2 separate regions of the Homo sapiens genome follow, and region 1 is linked to region 2. The links are contacts of gene promoters, found by promoter capture Hi-C in human tissues and cell types (Jung and others, 2019). All regions are on one chromosome and are shown on one strand. Each heading gives the region's core, a stretch centred on a gene start or on the middle of the fragment in contact. The rest is flanking DNA. Distances are from core to core; before and after follow the strand shown.

Region 1 (2,700 bases), core at 189-2,688, 56 kb before region 2:
CTTAAACTCTCTCTTGATCCTATTTCTTTCTCCAGATTTTGTCTCACTTCTCAACTTTACAACAAAGTGTCTGAAAAGAATTGTGTATACACGCTGTTTTCATTTCCTCACCTCCCACCTACTCTTTAATTCATTTCAAAATAGTTTTTGCTCCCTCACTGAAATGGATCTCACTATGATTCAGTGATTCATTTGTTGCTAAATCAAATGGACACTTCTCAAGCCTTAACTAACATAACCTTCCAATTACATTTTATACATCTGACAATTCTTTCTTTCTGAAATTGATCTCTTCACCTGATTTCCAAGACTTTTTCCTGCCCTGGTTTTCTTCAGAGCTTTGGCTATCTAGTCTCTCCTTCTCTCTCCTTTGTCAGTTCAACTTCCTCTCTATAACCTTCAAGTGTTTATGTGAGCTCAATGTGATATGACTCAAGGTCCCATCTTAGACCCCCATCTCTTCTCACTTAACATTTTCTCCCTAAATGATTTCATCTACTCCCTTAGCTTCTATTGCCATTCATAACCTATGAATTCCAACTTTATATCCCAAGCCTAATTCTCTCCCTTGAGAGTCAGACTCAATCTCACTACTAATAGGCACTTCAAACGCAACACAGCCAAGACGAATTCATGACCTTACCCTCCTCTCTTTAAAACTTGCTTTTGTTCCCATACCACTCTATCATAGTGGATGGCAACATTATCTACATAGTTGGCTCAAGCTAAAAGCTAGGAATCAGCCTTGAAATCTACATGTCCTTCATTCCCCCATATCCAATCAATCATTAACTTTTTTTTACTACTCCTAAACATCTTTCAAGACCATCGATTTCTCTTTATCTTTACTGTCATCTTCCTTGTCCAAACTACTATCATCTACTGCCTGGTCTTCCACATACCTATTCTTACTTCACAAATCTATTCTAAACTGCAGGCAGAGAGAGCTTTTTAAAAATAATAGGCTGATCACAACACTCTGTAGCTTAAAACCATCCCTTTGCTCTTAGCATAAAGGCCAAAACCCTAAAGAAGTCCTTTCGCACCTTGGAAGCTTCGCCTTGTGATACTCTTCACTTCCTAGTCCCTCCAGAACAGTTAAGATGTCCCTGTTATATGATATCATCATTTATTACTTATAATAACTATAATAATGTCTTTCTCTCTGATTAAAATACAAGCTACATGAGTGTAAATTGGGGGTCTTACTTGTTCATTCTTGTATCCTTCCACTTGGGATTGTGCCTTGAACAGTTTATGCTCAATACTTGTATTTTGAAAGTATAAGTAAATGAATGTCTCCAATTTTTACCCAACTTTCATGCTTTCTGTAGGCATCAAAGTATTCACTTTTATAAATTCTATGATACCCAGGTAGACTGAAGTGCTGCCTTTCCCATATTTTAATATCACAGTCATATTCTTCTTTCTCCTGTTGTAATGCTTTTTCCTCCTCTTTGCAAGTCCACCCTACTCATCCTTCAATGTTACCAGCTTCAGAAAGCATTCCCTAGTAGGAAGGAGAATCTGTCTGTAATAAGCTAATATTTTCCCCCTTTCAGTTATTACTTCCTATCTTACATCTCCTATTGATTTACTCCATCCTGATTATCTGTCCTGTTCAGTTATTGCATCCAGTCTTATGTCTCCTGCTTAGTTATTGCATCCTGTCTTAACTTTCCAATCCAGATATTCCACTCTTTCTTATTTCTCCTGCCCTTTTATTGCATCCTATCTTATCTTTCCATTTCACTTACTGCATCCTGTCTTATCTCTTCTGACCAGTTACTCCTGCTTGTCTTATCTTTCCTATTTAGTTATTTCATCCTGTCTTATCTTTCCTGCTCATTTACTACATGCATCCTGTCTTATCACTCCAGTTCACTTACTGTATCCTGTCTTATCTCTCTTTTTCATTTATTGTGTCATGTTACCTTTCGCATTGAGTTATTCCATCTTGTCTCTTCCACTCATTTTTGTAACCTGTCTTATCTCACCTGCTCATGTACTGCATCCTGTCTCACCTCTCATATCCATTTATTGCATCCTGTCTTCTCTCTCTTTCTCTCTCATTTGTTGTACCTGTCTGATCTCTCCCTGTCATTTATTACATCCTGTCTTGTCTTTTTCATTTATCACATCCTTTCTTCTCTCTCCTCTCCAATCCCTGTATCTTGTCTTATCTCTCCCATTCAATTATTATATCCTGTCTTATCCCTCCTGTTCAGTTATTCCATCCTGTCTTATCTTTTACCTTCAGTTATTGCATCCTGACTTGCCTCTCCTCTTCAATTATTGCATCCTGTCTTATTTCTCCTGTTACTCAAGGCAAATCCAGATTTCAGATTGATACATTCATTTTACTTGTTCAAAGAAAAATATCTGTATTTATCCACATTTTACTTCTGCATTTTCCCCAGCTACAACCTATGTTTAAGAAACAATTATTTTTTTCAATCTTTTCTCTTAGTTTCAACACTGTCAAAATCAACAGGCTACTGTTTACCCAGTAAAATTTATAAAAATCCAAAGTACTCACAAACAACTAGTACATGAAAAAGAAAACATTTAATCCATTTTCCCAACATAACTGCCTCTTATCTTTTTACAGTTATCTTTCATTGCTATCCCACAACTTGGAAACAGAGTGTATTCTCTTCCTATCTCTAATGCCAACTCTACAGGAGATGCTAGCTGTTG
Region 2 (2,700 bases), core at 105-2,604:
TTATTATTTATGTACTAACATGGCAAATGATCCAAGAGTGTAGAATGAAAAAAGAAAGTTTGTAAATAAATAATCATACTATCTATATTTTAAACATCTATATTATATATTATAAATTTTCTATGGCCCAATTTCCTTAGACCAGTTTTACTAATTTATATTTTCCCAGAAAATACATATGTAAATGTACAGAAAAGGTCTGCAATATTACAAACTAAACGGGTATCCGTAGTTACCTTGGGAGAAAAGGGAGATACCAGCATTGTGAGTGTTCATCAAAGGGAAAATTTAGCCTAATCTCTAAGGCTTTAATTTTTATGTAATTACAGTGTAAGAGGTTACACACCTGCATATATTTATCAAACCCATAGGCCTGGAATTGTTCTGCATCCTATCTGTGGTGGTGGCTACATGAATCAATACGTGTATAAAAACTCATACAATCATACAACAAAAGAAGTAAATTTTATTATAAAGTTTAAAAATTTTTAAAAATAAAAGCAAAAAACCTCATAAAACTGTCACTTTAAAAGGGTGAATTTGACTCTATGTAAATTATACCTCAATATATCTGACCTTAAAAAAAGGAAAGAGTTTAATTAAAAAAAATCATAATTTATTTAAAGAATAGGGTATAAATTACATTAGTGATATGATATATTAATTATTAAAGCATATTACAAGGCACACATGTACTATATATGCATCTATAATATGATCCCACTTATACGCCTCTATCTTATTTCTGCATTAGAGATTACAGAGACTTTTTTTACTTACCTGTATTTTTTTCTGTAATAAACATATTATTTTCTACTAATAATGTTTTTCAAAGTTAGATGAGTGGGCACTGGCCCAATGGTGGAGACTCAAGGTAGAATCTCTGCTGTCTAAGCCTGGACTTCAAGAGTGAGCATCTGTAGTGGCCCAAGGGAATGCAGTGGGGGGTTCCCGTGGTAGCAAATAAGGAAACGTGCTTAAGGCCCTGACAGCCGTGTGCCCCGGGTATCTGATCATTTGGCTACCACAGGCGTGCATGAAAGAGTTTGCCAAATTGAATATAGCTCTTAAGAACTTACTCTGAGGCCCCATCAGGCACTGTCAAAGATTCCCTTCCCAGCACACTAGAAAGCATTCTCTGCTGGCAGATCGGTCTCTGTCAAATTATTTATAGGAGATTGGTTTGCATACACAAAATGATATGAATACTTCTAATTATATCCAAACATGACAAATGTCACTACAAACTATGCTGAGGGTTCATGTTGCCAAATGTCTTGCCCTAACAAAGAGGAGGTAGTTGCAGCATCAGCACATTAGTTCCTATATAAGCAGGACTGCCCCTTGTGCCTTATTTCCACCAAGAACCCAGAGGTAAGTGATGAAGGCCTTGGAACTCGAAAAACCCCAGGTGGGGAAAAGAGCTGACCTCGTAGTTATCTGTGAGCATTAAACTGCTCTCTCAATCTTAACTTTTGTCTTCATAGAACCAAGCTTTGGGGTAGGGAAACTTCAATTCTGTAACTATAATAACAATTCTGTAACTATAATATTGGAATTTCGGAGCATCACTAATAAGAAGCTTGTTGTTTTACAGAGTGGAACACTTCTGAACCTGCATTTTTATCTGGAACTCCAGAGGTAAGACTTGGCTTTATTAATTTATTGATGACAGAGGGGATATAGTCTAATGAAGCTGTGAACAATCCTGAATTATACACCATTTCCATGTTTTTGCAGTTATATCAGGAAAGAGTGTTTCCGAGTGAGTGTTTATAAATGCTAGAAAATAACTTTTTCAAAATGTCTTCTTCTCAGAGACTATCCTCATTTGGGTTCCAAGATTCAAAGACCGTTTAGGACAGAATTAGCTTCAACAGTGAGTTCTCAGCTGTGCTTAGAACTGTCCAGTGGCAATAGACTAGTCCATGCCAGTCTTCTTCTATGGCAAAGCATTGAGGACTTAGGACATTTTATAGACATTTTTAAAGACTCCAGAAAGATTTTTACCTAGAAATATAAATATAAATATTTTAGCTACCTTTGATTATTTGTTATTTGTTGTTAGAAAGACTTATTATTATTTACTTAACAGGTCGCAAGTATTACATCCACCGGGTGTTAAATACCATGACTAATTTAAGAGGAATCCTGCCCTTCCCTAAGTAACTTTCTAATTGAAAATAAAGGAAAAACTCAACCAATCTAACATGTCCACATTGCAGAGGCCTATCTATTAATCAGAAGACAATGGCTTACATGCATGTGATGTACTCTTAAAACTTTTTTCTCTGTTTTCTGGGTGGAAAGAAAAGAAACCCATGGAATTTATGTGGGAAGAAGGGCCTTTGTGCTGAAGCTCTCATTCCTCTGTGGTTAGATCTGTTAACTGACAGCTGAAATCTCTCATGTCAAAAAAGATTTTGGAATCAAGGCAATGCTAAGTCTGTTGGGAACAACCCAAATTACAAAAAATCCAGAGTATTAGAATGTATTATGTTCTTCTAACAATCCACTGAGAGATACAACACCAAATATCAACATAAAGATGTTAAAAATAATTATTTGCTTTATGAGAGAAAATGGCCATCTTAAAAGGCAAAGATTTTTTGATAGCTTTGAAAATATGAACCTTCATTTGAACAAGACAAACTTTCTTTTCTCACCATATGATTGTCCTGGCATATGGCATAGACAAAC

What was found. The method cuts DNA at HindIII sites, captures the fragments that hold promoters and counts their contacts. A contact is called where the count stands out against the background at its distance.
Region 1: a fragment that was not itself captured here is called in contact with the fragment with the promoter of MYH8 in region 2 in 2 of the 25 tissues and cell types used here (bladder and thymus).

The regions. Positions count from the first base shown.
Region 1 is chr17:10,477,022-10,479,721 of GRCh38, reverse strand. The region is part of intron 2 of MYHAS (myosin heavy chain gene cluster antisense RNA); the gene reads right to left. Among named protein-coding and RNA genes, the nearest start is that of MYH4, 8.8 kb to the right of the region's middle. The HindIII fragment of the contact is 3,737 bases long and covers 1-2,700 here.
Region 2 is chr17:10,420,604-10,423,303 of GRCh38, reverse strand. It overlaps MYH8 (myosin heavy chain 8), which reads left to right and starts at 1,354. Exons shown (of 40, transcript NM_002472.3): 1 at 1,354-1,374; 2 at 1,598-1,641. All of the region lies in intron 2 of MYHAS (myosin heavy chain gene cluster antisense RNA), which reads right to left. The HindIII fragment of the contact is 11,670 bases long and covers 1-2,700 here.